Linked DNA regions of Homo sapiens: all the other regions are linked to region 2. The links are contacts of gene promoters, found by promoter capture Hi-C in blood cells and fetal thymus (Javierre and others, 2016). All regions are on one chromosome and are shown on one strand. Each heading gives the region's core, a stretch centred on a gene start or on the middle of the fragment in contact. The rest is flanking DNA. Distances are from core to core; before and after follow the strand shown. Region 1 overlaps IFT88 (intraflagellar transport 88). Region 2 holds the start of CRYL1 (crystallin lambda 1). Region 3 overlaps EEF1AKMT1 (EEF1A lysine methyltransferase 1). Region 4 overlaps IL17D (interleukin 17D). Region 5 has its middle 21 kb from the start of IL17D.

Region 1 (2,700 bases), core at 201-2,700, 150 kb before region 2:
ACTTGCAAATGGCCTATCCTCTTATTACCAGGAAGCTGATCTTCCTTTGCTCCTGTCCCTTTCCAAAGTTAAGAGGCAGCGCACCACAGCTAGGGATCCAAAGTACTTTCCCAACCAACAGTCCAAGAAAGTAATGACCTTATCAGCTCAGATGACATAATACTCTGATAATTTTACAAGGACCATTGCTTGGACCTAGCCTTACTCTGAGAATTTCAGCTCATTCTTACATTGTTACAGCTGCAATTCTCAGTTTGATTTCAACCCTCACCCCCTACTTCTATTGATCCCATTACATTATTACCCAACAAAACCTAACAGGAATATATTAAAATTGTAAAAATGAACGCCGATAGCTACTGTATAGGCAATACTCAAGTGAGGAGAGGGAGACTCTGGAGGGACTCAGTGAAGAGAACAAAGGAGGTAACATTATATATTTGTTATGTGGCAAACTTAAATACTTAATACCTAGCATATAAAGAGGATATGAGAGGTGAAGCTGGAAGAATGTTGGTATTTACTGAGTACTTATTATGGCTAGAAAACGTGAGAAAATGCTTATCTGTAGATAAAACAGCAGAAAGGTAGGAAGGGAAAGAGGGTAAAAACTCATAAAATGTGTGTTTGTATGTATGAGCACACACGTATATATAAAATACATGTGTATATATTTTACAGATAGGATATATGCATGCATATATATGTGTGTATGCATATATATGTATGTATGTGCATATGTATTTTGTAAAAGTTTTGGATTCAATTTCCTGTGCTTTTTGTAACTTGCCTCTGCAGGCAATTATAAAAAAGGAGTTTCACAAATGTTTTGATTAACAGCAGCATTACTGAAGTAAATATTCAGCTTTCCAAATTGGTAACTTCAAGAACCAACATTTATTTTTATTTATAAGCACTAGTAATTCTTGTTTAAAAAAACAAAATTCAACTCAACAGTGAGACAGGGGTACACTTGGTTACACTGCATGGATAAACATGACCCTCTTGTGTTAGGGAGAAACTGAGGCTCTCACACTCAGAGGTCACACACTGGCAGTGGTGAGAACATGGGCGCTGGCAGTGCAGTGGACACTGGTATTCCAGGCCCTGCCCATGCACTCCCTTTGTCAGGCGGGAGTCACAGTAGCCATGCTCACCCTTGCACATGCTTGCCCTTATCAGGAGTTTCTCTAAGAGCTTTCCACATGAGCCCATTTCCTCCTCAGCAACCCTATCAGGAAGGTACTGTTTTCAGTCTCATTTTACTGATGAGGAAACTGTGACAAAGAGATTTAAGTAACTTGTTCACATAAGATGTGATGAGTTCAGGAAGGTGGTCCATGGATGTTGAATGAATGCCAGGAATGGGATTATGACAAGGACTGAAAACTCAGGGCAACAGGCTAAGGGCGAGAGTTAAGGAGCATGTTCTGTTGAAGATACAAAATCTCATCATATGCTCTGTGATGTGTGTTGACTTAGTAAGGTGGGTGAGTTGTAAACAACTAAGGTGGTTTTAAGAGAAGTTCACTGATACAGACTTTTACTGTTCAAGCTGTATACCAGGATGAAATGGCTTCAAGCAGTGCTTTGATCAAAAGGATAATTCCCAGGCCCCACCTGTCATTACCAAAAGTATTCATGGAGACTTTGGCTTAGAGCAGGGATTAGCAAACTACAGTGTGTGGGCCAAATCTGGCCCACCCTATTTTTGTCTATCCAGCAAGCTAATGATTTGTACATTTTAAAATGGTTAGGAAGAAAAGCAAACAATAATAATATTTTGTGACATATAAAACTCATATAACATTCTAACTTCAGTGTCCAAGAATTAAGTTTTATAGAACACTATCACATTTATTCACTTACACGCTGTGTACAGCTGCTTTCAATACACAACAGCAGAGTGGAATATTCTCGGTAGATGAGACTTGGCCTGCAAGCCTAAACTATTTACTACCTGGCCCTTTACAGAAAAAGTCTGCACACCCCAAATTACTGAGAATTACTGTATCAGAACACAGACGACACATTGGCAGGTTACACCAGCTGGGTATACTGGCATAGGCAAACTTTTTCTGGAACTGTAACACTGAGACTACTTTGGTGCTCTGGTGCTGTTCACTATCTTCTAATACTTATTATTCATCAAGATTCCTTTGTGATACATACCGTATACAAAGTGGGCTGGATACTCGGGTATCCTGCAAAACTGTGGTCTAGATTTATGGGGTAAAGGGACATGCAAGTTGGGACTGAGGCTGACAGGCATGATCCTTAGAGAAGTGACAGCACCCGCCCCCCGGCCTCTCAAGACTCCCTCCCCACATAGATGTCCAGCAATTCCTTCTGTAATTGGCTGACTTGTGTCGGCCTGTCCTCTACATTTAGGCCTATGCACCTCCTCAGAGCGTACACTCCTTGTCTCGTCCTCCCTTGTGGGCACTGAGCATGACTTGTTCATTCTCTGCTTGTGACACCATCAGGCCCCAGCAAAACTGTGGAAAGGTGTTAATTAGCCATGCTCAAACTTGGACTAGAATATTAAAATATAACTGGCCAGGCGCGGTGGCTCAAGCCTGTAATCCCAGCACTTTGGGAGGCTGAGGCGGGTGGATCACGAGGTCAGGAGATCGAGACCATCCCGGCTAACATGGTGAAACCCCATCTCTACTAAAAATACCCAAAATTAGCCGGGCG
Region 2 (2,700 bases), core at 43-2,542:
TTTGTTGCCCAGGCTGGTCTTGAACTCCTGGCCTCAAGCTATTATTTACTACTCAGCTTCCCAAAGCGCTGGGATTTCAGGCATGACTTTGCAGGGAGCAGCAAACAAGCCAGTCTGCTGCCCCCATAGCCTCCGGTAGTGAGCAGTCACAGGATGCTCACTCCCTGGGTGCCTTGATTATTATATTGGCTGCCTGTGTAACTGACTACAGAAACTGCTCCATCAGAAGATGGAAGCTTTGGAGCCTTGTATTCTCAGCCAGAGCAGGCGCGGTTGCTCAGGCTAGCGGCTGTCTCAACAATGTACTGTAACATTCCCTCCAAAAAGTCCTCAACATTTAAGCTTGCCTTCTACTGTGTGTAAGTTGCATGTCCGAAACACTCCATTACGGATATGGGAATATAATCAATCCATGTGACTTAGCCAATCTGATGAGTGAGAGATGACTTATCTTCCTTGTGTTACTTTTCATTTCTCTTGAGGTTGAATACTTTACAAATATTTATCGATAATTTGTGAAACTGTTCTTTAAAAAACAAAACAAAACAAAAAAACCTAACCCCTCCCCTGAGATTTCTCTTTCCACGTTCCTGACTCAGGGGAAACAAAGGAAGACTTCCTTTTATCATCTCAGTGTTGGCTGCGGTTCCAGCTTGAGTACTGTCTCCTCTGTCTAATGACTGTGTCATTTCCCGTTCAGCTTGTGCTGTGTGGACGCACACCACTGTCAGGCAATGTGTGATGCCCCTTCCTCTTGGTCTGTTCCGGGCTCCAAGAAGGCCAGGAGTCAGGGCACGAGGGCATTTCCTTTTTCTGATACATAAACCGAGTGCAGAGTGTGCTCCGTGGAGGAATTCAGACGTGTCCTTCCGTAGCGCAGATGAACGCATCAGGTGTTCTCTTTCACTGCTGTCGCAGTCCCTGCGCCCAGTTCGCAGTTGGCGGCAGCGGCAGGCGTCTTTCAGAGACGAATTAGCAAAGGGGACATTCTCTGACAGTTTCTCTAGGGTGCTTTAGCGCTAGAGCCCGTGCCAGCCTGCCCGTGTCCCCTCCTATAGACACGGACTTCACGGTGAATGCTGACAGTCACAAGCGCGTGGTCTTCCCGCTTTCCACCCCCCGACGTGCCCCCGCGCTGGTCCTGCCCCTGCCCACGAGGGTCGGCGCGCCGTGTGTCTCCCGGTGTCTCGGGCCCGCGGCGCGCACCCCACTCAGGGACCAAGCGGCCCTCCCCGCCCTCCCGGTCCGCGCGCGCAGCCAATGGGCGCGGGACCCGCCCTCCCCGGAGCCCAGAGCTCGCAGCTCCGCCGGCGCCTGGTCCCAGCGCCCGCGGCGCCGCGTCCCCGGCCCAACCATGGCGTCCTCCGCGGCCGGCTGCGTGGTGATCGTTGGCAGGTAAAGGGCTCCGAGCCGCGCTGCTGCCCCTGGAGCCCGGGGAGACGCCGGGGACGTGGTGCCCTCGCGTGGGGCCCTCGGGGTGGGCGCCGGGTCGCTGTCCCCGCCCCGGCCTCCGGTCCTCCGAAGCCCTGCGCCCTGCGGCCCCTACGGCGCTGGCGGGCTCGGGGAGAGGCGCGGCTGGAGGGGCTTGGCAGGTGGAGGCGCCCCGCGGAGTTGGGTCTGCTTCCCGGGAGCCAGCGTTGCAGGAGGTTCCGAGGTTGACCGCCCAGGCCGCGGGGCCTGCGGTTCCTGGACTCTGTTGAATGTCGCCGCGTCTGCCCGCAGGTCCACATAGAAGTGCCAGGCACCGTGTTGAATGAAACGAATTCTGGCTGCGATCCTGCGACGACTGTGTTCTCATCCCCATTTTACGAATGAGAATACTGAGACTAAGCAGTTTACCTAAGGTCACAGGCGTTTAGTGACGGAGACAGGACTAGCCCAGCAGGGAGGGTGCCAGCGCAGTCCTGTCGGCGACGATGTCGCTGGAGGCCGCAGCAGGTGTTAGGCGAACATACACGCAGTCCTAATTCCTGGGCGAGGCGATGTTTCCAGAGGGGAGGTGGGGGCCGATGGAGCCCAGAGAGTTTGCTAAGTGTGTCCATTTAACAGCTTAAATTCTGCCCAAACTGATTTTTAGTGTGTGCTTCCCCCACCCCGCCCCCCACCCCTACGGTTACAATCCTTGCTATTTTTGTTTTTTAAAAAGGGGCATTTGTATGTACCTTTCTTTGGCCAGCTGTTAGCAGCAATCTATAAACATGTTAATACTTGCTATTGATAGTTAAAAGCACCTTTTTGGTGACTGCTGTTGAGGTGTTGGCCTGCCCCCGACTCCGCCCCCCATCAGTGTACAACCCGGTGTGGAGACCACTTCCAATGTCAGGGTGTTTCCTTCCCACTGAAGGAAGGCATCAGATTCCTTGTTGTCAGCTTTCTTTTCTCCAGAGCAGTGGAGTTAACTGTGCCTTTGTTCTTTCTGGCCCATGAGTGCCCGTGGTTGAATAGTGAAGGCATATTAAAAAGTGCACTTTGGGCCGCGCGCGGTGGCTCACCCCTGTAATCCCAGCACGTTGGGAGGCCGAGGCAGGCGGATCATCTGAGGTCGGGAGTTCGAGACCAGCCTGACCAATATGGAGAAACTCCGTCTCTACTAAAAATACAAAATTAGCCGGGCGTAGTGGCACATGCCTGTAGTCCCAGCTACTCGGGAGGCTGAGGCAGGAGAATCCTTTGAACCCGGGAGGCGGAGGTTGCGGTGAG
Region 3 (2,700 bases), core at 89-2,588, 230 kb before region 2:
GATCTTATTACATCTAAAAGGAGAGATAGGCACGAATACAGTAATAGCTGGATACTCCAACATTAGATAGATCATCTACATAGAAAATTAACAAAGAAACATTGTATTTAAACTGCACTTTAGACCAATGGACTTAAGAGACGTTTGTAGAACATAGCATCCAACAGCTACAGAATATGCATTCTTCTCATCATCACATGGAACCTTCTCCAGTTCCATGTGGTTATGTTTGGACAGAAAACAAGTCTCAACAATTTTTGAAAAATTGAAATGTCAGATATCTTCTCAGGTCATAACACAATAAAACTAGAAATCAATAACAGGAGAAACTTTGGAAACTAAAAATACAGGGAATTTAAATATGCTCCTGAATGATCATTAGGTCAGGGATGAAATTAAAGAGGAAGTCCAAAAATTTCCTGAAACAATGGAAAATCAAAACACAACATACCGAAATCTATGGAATACAGCAAAAACAGTGCTAAGAGTGAAGTTTATAGCAATAAAAATCTACATCTAGAAAGTAGGAAGGTTTCAAATAAATAATCTAACAATGCACCTTAAGAAACTAGAAAAGCAAGAACAAACCAGTCCCAAAATGAGTAGAAGGAAAGAAATAATGAAGAGCAGACAGAACCAAACAAAATGCAGAATAAAAAATATTCAATGGATCAATGAAAAGTTGGCTTTTTGAAAACATAGGGAAAACCAGTAAACTACTAGCTAGACTAACCAAGAAAAAAAAACAAAAGACAAAAATAAATAAAATCAGAAATAAAGGGGACATTACAACTGAAGTCCAGGACCAGATGACTTTACTGCTGAATTCTACCAAACTTAAAAAGAATAATCAATACCAATTATCTTTAAATTATTCCAGAAGTTTGAAGTGGAGAGAATTCTCCCTAATTCATTCTATGAGGCCAGCATTATCCTGACACCAAAACCAGACAATAATGTAAGAAATAAAGAAAATTACAGGCCAGTATCCCAGATGAATATAGACACAAAAGTCCTCAACAAAATACTAGTAAATAGAACCCAATAGTACATCAAAAAAAATTACACCATGATTAAGTGGGATTTATCCTGGAGATTCAAGGAAGGTTCAACACCTGCAAATCAACAAACATAATACACCACATCAACAGACTGAAGGACAAATGTTATATGATCATCTCAATAGCTGCAGAAAAAGCATTTTAAAAAATTCAACATCCCTTCATGATAAAAACTCTCAACAAACTAGGCATAAAGGAACATACCTCATCATAATAAAGGCTATATATGATAAACCCACAGCTAACATCATACTGAATGGGGAAAAGCTGAAAGTCTTTCCTCTAAGATCAGGAATAAGATAAGCATGCCCACTTCCACCACTGCTATTTAACATAGTACTGGAAGTCCTAACTAGGACAATCGGGCAACAAAAAGAAATAAAAAGCATCTAAATTGGAAAAGAGGAAGTCAAATTGTCCCTCTTTATAGATGACATGACATGATCTTACACCTAGAGAAACCTAAAGACTCCAGGAAAAAACTTTTAGATCTTATAAATTCAATAAGATTGCAGGATACAAAATCAACATACAAAAATCAGTAGCATTTCCATACACCAGTAATGAACTAGCTGAGAAAGAAATCGAGAAGGCAATCCTGTTTACAATAGCTACAAAAAAAAGAAATACCTAGTAATAAATTTAACCAAGGAGGTGAAAGGTGTCTACAAGGAAGACTACAAAACTCTGAGGAAAGAAATTGAAGACACCAACAAATGGAAAGACATCCCGTGCTCACGGATTGAAAGAATAATCGTAGTTAAAATGATTATACCCAAAGCAATGTATATATCCAGTACAATCCCTATCAATACTAATGTCATTTTTCACAGAAAAAAAAAAGTCCTGAAATTCCTGTGGAACCCAAAAACAGCCTGAATGGCCAAAGCAATCCTGAGCGAATAGAACAAGGGTGGAGGCATCACACTACCTGAGTTCAAATGATGTTACAAGGCTGTAGTAACCAAAACAGCATGGTATCGGTATTACAACAGACACATAGACCAATGGAACAGAATAGAGAACCCAGAAATTAATCCACATATCTATAGCCAACTGATTTTTGACAAAGGTGCCAAGGGGAAAGGACACCTCTTCAATAAATGGTGCTAGAAATATTAGATATCCATATGCAGAAGAATGAAACAGGACCCCTATCTCTCACCATATGCAAAAGTCAACTCAAGATGGATTAGACGTAAGCATATATCCTGAAACTATAAAACTTCTAGACAAAAACATAAGGGACACACTTCAGAACGTTGGTCTAGGCAAAGATTTCATGGCTAAGACCTCAAAAGCACAAGAAACAAAAATAGACAAATGGGACTCTATGATATTTAAATGCTTCTACACAGCAAAGGAAACAATCAGCAGAATGGAGAGGCAACCCATTGAGATGTGTAAAATATTTGAAAACTATTCATCTGACAAGGGACTCGTATCTAGAATATATAAGAAACTCAACTAAAATTTCAAAACCAAATAATCCCATTAAAATGGGCAAAGGACCTGAATAGACATTTCTCAAAAGAAGACATACAAATGGCCAACTGGTATATGAGGAAGAGCTCAACATTACTAATCATTAAAGTTATGCAAATCAAAACCACAGTGAGATGTAATGTTATCCCAGAAT
Region 4 (2,700 bases), core at 63-2,562, 180 kb before region 2:
TTTTTTTTGAGACAAGTTCTCACTCTGTTGCCCAGGCCGGAGTGCAGAGGCACAATCATAGTTCACTACAGCCTCAGCCTCCCTGGCTCAAACTTCCCAAGTAGCTGGGACCACAGGCAAACATGACCACACCTGGCTGTTTTTTTTGTAGTGATAAGTCTCATACTATGTTGCCCAGGCTGGTCTCAAACTCCTGGGCTCAAGTGATCCTCCCACCTCCGCCTCCTGAGTAGCCGGGGATTTACAGGTGAGCCACTGGGCCTGGCTGGGTCTCACTTTTTCTAATCTTCCCAATAACCCAAAAGATGGTGAGAGGTGATTGGAGGGAGGAGGGCAGAGAGGGCTCTCCTGGCAGGAAAATGCAGGAGCAGCTTTGGCAGTCAGCAATCTGGAGTCCCAGCCCAGCAGCCATCCCCTGAAGACTGTCCTTCCTTCAGCAAATATAAGCCACCCACCTCCGTTTGCCCATGGGGAGTGATCTCATCACTGTTGCTAAATAATATGAAAAATGATGCACATGACACCTTCAGCCACCCTGCTGCAGCTGCCACTCCTGCTCCTGGGACCACCCAGCACTGAGGTTCCACATGTGGGCAGATCTGGGTGGCCCAGACCACGATCCCCGAACCCTGTGTGTCATTCTCATCCATAACCTCCCTCGGCTCCCAGATCCTGCCTGGGGCGACATAGGTGTCATCTGTAGCAAGGGCAACTCAATTTAACTTCCCACACACAGAATGCCAGTGCTGCTAACTCTCCATGTGTCCTCCAGCCCTGCTCTGTCTCCTGAGCTCCAACCAGTCATTGTCACCTGTACGCCTTTCAGGCAGGCAAAACTCAACAGGCTTGTTACTAAATTCATTATTTCCTCCCACAACACTTGTTCCTAAGTGTATTTTCTCATTTTGCTCAAATACCATCAACAACCCAAGCCAGAAACATGAGAGACATGCCTTTGGGAGGCTATATACTACTCTTAGGCCCTTGGCCCAGCCTGTGGGGAGCCACGGGTTTGCCTGAGAGTTCGAATCTGCTATAGAAAGCAGGGCCAGCAGCTTCTGTCCAGAGAAGTTAATCTCTGGTTCTGAGAGATTCCTTATGTGGCTTTAATCCTATTTGGTATATCAGAAGCATAACACGAGGTTAGAGAAAGAAGAATGCCGTAGTCCATCCCTTCAGGTCCTGGAAATGGAGGAAGAGAGAGGAAAAGCAAGAGCACCAAGATACCAGAATGAATGGCGCCATGTGTGTGCCCTGCAGGCTCCAGCTGAAGGACAGGAGTGAGAAGGGCGGGAGGGGTCCCACCCAACTTCCCCGTGGGCAGGGGCTCTGAGGGGGCTCTGCCACAGTGAGCTTGGTCCTCTGCAGAGTAGCCAGGAGGCAGGAGGCCCTAAAACTTGGCTTCCCAGGACAGCATAGGGGTCCTGTGTGTTGTTGAGTAAAAGGAAATCTCCCTACCCAGCAGCCGGCAGGGAGAGGCTCCAGGAAAGCCCAGATGCGTTTTAGACAAAATCATCACATTTCCTCTGACTCTCCACAGCACTTGTCTTCTTTAATGAGCATCTTTCACGCTGATCCTAGTCTCCCCTTCCCACCGCGCTGCCTGAGTGAAGCCCTAGATCCTTTGGATGGAAGTGCTGGAGAGCATTGTCCAATCCATGCCCCATTGGGACACCCTCCTAAACCAGAGTGGCTGTATGGCTTCCTCCATCTCAAGTGTCAAGACTTTTTTTCTCTTTAATTTTTATTTTAGAGACGGGGTCTCGCTTTGTCACGCAGGTTGGAAGGCAGTGGCGCCACCACAGCTCACTGCAGCCTGAACCTCCCGGGCTCAATCTATCCTCCCACTTAAGCCTCTGGAGTAGCTGGGACCACAGGCACGTGCCACCACACTTCGCTAATCCTTAAAAATTGTTTGCAGAAATGGGATCTCGCTATGTTTCCCAGGCTGGTCTCGAACTCCTGGACTTAAATCCTCCTGCCTCGGCCTCCCAAAGTGCTGGGATTCCAGGCGTGAGGGTGAAGCTCTGCACTGCTGACAAGGCGGGGATCCAGCTCCTGCACCTGTCTCCAGCCTTACATCGATGCCCACCCCACAGGCAAACACCTCGCCTACGCCCCCCCACCCCCACCGCCCCCGCTCGCCTTGTGGCTCTCCCCATTTTCCAAGCGCTTTGTTCCCGCTTGCTATCAGCTGTCCCTTCCCTCAGCACTGCCTTTGTAGGCGACTTGCTCTCCTCCATCAAGACTCAGCTCTTTCACGAAGCCTTTCTTGACCTCTGTGGCCCTGGGAGGCCTTGCCCCCTAGGGCAGCTCCTCCTGCTCCAGCTAGAGGGAAGACGGTCACAGGTGCCTGCTGAGGACACTGCGGCACCCTGCCTACACGCCCCCAACTTCTCCAGCCTTCCCCTTCTGCAGGCTGTCCCTTTCTTCTGAAATGACCTCTGTTCCAAGACCAAAATACTCTCGAAACTGTTCATGTCACTTCATGCACTGCCTGATGGTGTGGTTTCTTTCCCAATTATCCCCACTCCTTCCTTAGGCTATTAAACTAGAGGGGCTCAGAGGGCGCTTCCCAGGGCTCCACTCCAGCAGCCTCTGGACCACAGGGGCACTCAGGAAATATGTGGATAGTACCGCGCACCCCCCAGCAGCACCTCCCCGGGCCCCCTGTGCAGAGTACGGTCCACATCACTGTGT
Region 5 (2,700 bases), core at 186-2,685, 200 kb before region 2:
CTGGGTGATACCCACGGTCAGTCATGCCGTCTGGAACCCCCAAGGCTCCCTCACCTCCTGTACCTTAGTAAAGCACTGCAGAGGTTAAAAGGAATGTTTTAATCCACGTCTTTTTAAGTCCCTCCTGATTAGTGGGAAGGGGTAGAAGAGTAATTTCTGTTTTGCTAACAAAATTCCAGCACTTCTCAGAAACTCTTCAGATGCGTGTCTGGGGTGAGGAGGGCCTGAACAGCAAGAAGAGATGAAAGGCAGGGGGAACTTTAAGACCCCATTTCAGATGGGGGTTCTGTACTCTTTCTCCTTTCATTCCTTCCTAAAATCAGAGCTGGCACCAGTTACTAAAAATGACCATTTCCCCCCTTTGCCCTGCTGGAAGAGATGCGGTAAGACATAATGAGATAACTGGCCCCTGACTGTGGAACTGTTGGTATTTGCAGAGTGTTTTTGGATTTCTGTTCCCAAATGATTCCATTTTTGTAGAACAAGTATATAATTGAAATACTGTCAGTTGGAAACGATCTTCAGTAACCAGCAAAGCACCTCCATTCCAAAGGTTGCCACAGAATCCTCCAGGTAGAATTCATGTGAAGGAAACATGCACTTTTCTGGGAGGAGGGGAAGAAGCTCTGAAATGTACAATATCATGTGTTGCCCCTCCACAAATCCTGGGAATGAAAGGCATGGAGGGAAATGTGTGAAATAAACCAAGTGGATCTGGGAGCAGGGAGGGAGATGTCACTGAACTTTGGCTGGCACAGTTTATCTAGCCAGTAAACCTCCTTATTTGTTTGATAAAACACAATACCAACCTCCCATCTCTGCAACACCCCCCCCCCCACCAAAAAAAACCCTTCAGTTTTAGCAAGAGAAAAAAATTTTGTCCCAAGAAGATCTTGTTATTCATTGAAACAGTACCTTCCCAAGCTTAGCCACCACCTCTAATTTCAACATACTGTATTTAAATGCTGCTGCCCAGTTAAAGTTCTAGATTTTGTTTTATTTGTTTATTATTTTACTTGTCAGTTATTATTATTATTATTTGAGATGGAGTCTTGCTCTGTCACCCAGGCTGGAGTGCAGTGGCACGATCTCAGCTCACTGCAATCCCCGCCTCCTGGGTTCAAGCGATTCTCCTGTCTCACTCAGCCTCCTGAGTAGCTGGGATTACAGGCGCCCACCACTGCGCCTGCTAATTTTTGTATTTTTAGTAGAGACAGGGTTTTTGTATTTTTAGTAGAGACCATCTTGGCCAGGCTGGTCTCAAACTCCTGACCTCGTGATCCACCCGCCTTGGCCTCCCAAAGTGCTGGGATTACAGGCGTGAGCCACCGTGCCCAGCCTTTTTTTTTTTTTTTTTGAGATGGAGTTTCACTCTTGTTTTCCAGGCTGGAGTGCAATGGCATGATCTCGGCTCACTGCAACCTCTGCCTCCTGGGTTCAAGTGATTCTCCTGCCTCAGCCTCCCAAGTAGCTGGGATTACAGTTGCGCGCCACCACGCCCAGCTAATTTTTTTGTATTTTTGGTAGAGATGGGGTTTCACCATGTTGGTCAGGCTGGTCTCCAACTCCTGACCTCAGGTGATCCACCCACCTCAGCCTCCCAAAGTGCTGGGGTTACAGGTATAAGCCACTGCACCCGGCCCAGCGATTTCATTTTAAACTTACCTTTCATACAAAAAAAAAAGTCACTTGTAAGTGACAGATGCCTCCTAAAGCGACATAACAAGTGACTTTTTTTTGGTATAAAAGATAAGTTTAAAATGCAGAAGGCTTAGCTTGATGTTTATTTTCAATGTGGCTTATGAATGACTGCAGTGCAATGATGTGTCCCTGTCCACACGTGTTCATGTGTGCCAGGCACTGTGCCAGGCACTTTACCAACAGTGTTGAATCCTCACAGGGTGGGCGCTGTGACCTCATTTCACACGGAAGGAAAATGAAGCTTAGTGAGGTGAAGGGAGCAGGTTCATAGAGCGGCACTCAGGTGCGAGGCGCTTGAGCAGCTTTGCCATTTCATCATTTTAGTGGAGGAGGGAGGCTGTCTCGCTTACTGCCGCCTTGCAGGAGCTGGGTGACTAGAACCAGGCAGGTGCCCAGTAGATAGTCACTAAGCGGATGAATGTACGGTACAGAGAAAAAACACAGGCTGCCTTTCTCGATCTTCAAATGGAAAGCTCATTTCTTCTGTTAGGAATGTGCTACCTTTTAGCAAGCTGAGGTTAAACTAATAATTAATGCAGTGAATAAAATCATGACATTTTCCCCATGCAGATAGTTTCCTCTCCTTGTGTGCCCTTCCTCCAACGCTTGCACTGTTTATATTTGAGGAGTGACCTGGAAAGTGTTACACAACAGCAGCGATGACGGAAAACACACCTAAGTTGCTGCTTTAAAAGGCAGTTCTGGGCCAGGCGCGGTGGCTCACGCCTGTAATCCCAGCACTCTGGGAGGCCGAGGCGGGCGGATCACGAGGTCAGGAGATCGAGACCATCCTGGCTAACACGGTGAAACCCCGTCTCTACTAAAAATACAAAAAACTAGCCGGGCGAGGTGGCGGGCGCCTGTAGTCCCAGCTACTCGGGAGGCTGAGGCAGCAGAATGGCATGAACCCGGGAGGCGGAGCTTGCAGTGAGCCGAGATCGCGCCACTGCACTCCAGCCTGGGCAACAGAGTGAGACTCCGACTCAAAAAAAAAAAAAA

Evidence for each region. Contacts are between HindIII fragments. The CHiCAGO score rates a contact against its expected background, and 5 or more counts as called.
Region 1: a contact is called between a fragment that was not itself captured here and the fragment with the promoter of CRYL1 in region 2, in 1 of 17 cell types (M2 macrophages). The highest score is 5.2, in M2 macrophages.
Region 3: a contact is called between a fragment that was not itself captured here and the fragment with the promoter of CRYL1 in region 2, in 1 of 17 cell types (M2 macrophages). The highest score is 5.1, in M2 macrophages.
Region 4: a fragment that was not itself captured here is called in contact with the fragment with the promoter of CRYL1 in region 2 in 15 of 17 cell types (endothelial precursors, megakaryocytes, M2 macrophages and 12 more); the score reaches 14.1 in endothelial precursors.
Region 5: a fragment that was not itself captured here is called in contact with the fragment with the promoter of CRYL1 in region 2 in 4 of 17 cell types (M1 macrophages, M2 macrophages, endothelial precursors and 1 more); the score reaches 6.2 in M1 macrophages.

Annotation. Positions count from the first base shown.
Region 1 is chr13:20,674,870-20,677,569 of GRCh38, reverse strand. All of the region lies in intron 24 of IFT88 (intraflagellar transport 88), which reads right to left. Among named protein-coding and RNA genes, the nearest start is that of IL17D, 27 kb to the left of the region's middle. The HindIII fragment of the contact is 3,313 bases long and covers 1-2,700 here.
Region 2 is chr13:20,524,449-20,527,148 of GRCh38, reverse strand. It overlaps CRYL1 (crystallin lambda 1), which reads left to right and starts at 1,292. Exons shown (of 8, transcript NM_015974.3): 1 at 1,292-1,395. The coding sequence starts at 1,355. RefSeq lists an enhancer at 777-886 and a silencer at 1,067-1,616. The HindIII fragment of the contact is 5,179 bases long and covers 345-2,700 here.
Region 3 is chr13:20,750,877-20,753,576 of GRCh38, reverse strand. All of the region lies in intron 2 of EEF1AKMT1 (EEF1A lysine methyltransferase 1), which reads left to right. Among named protein-coding and RNA genes, the nearest start is that of EEF1AKMT1, 22 kb to the left of the region's middle. The HindIII fragment of the contact is 4,519 bases long and covers 1-2,700 here.
Region 4 is chr13:20,704,749-20,707,448 of GRCh38, reverse strand. The region is part of intron 1 of IL17D (interleukin 17D); the gene reads right to left. Among named protein-coding and RNA genes, the nearest start is that of IL17D, 2.4 kb to the right of the region's middle. The HindIII fragment of the contact is 7,364 bases long and covers 1-2,700 here.
Region 5 is chr13:20,723,656-20,726,355 of GRCh38, reverse strand. No RefSeq gene overlaps it. Among named protein-coding and RNA genes, the nearest start is that of IL17D, 21 kb to the right of the region's middle. The HindIII fragment of the contact is 1,018 bases long and covers 927-1,944 here.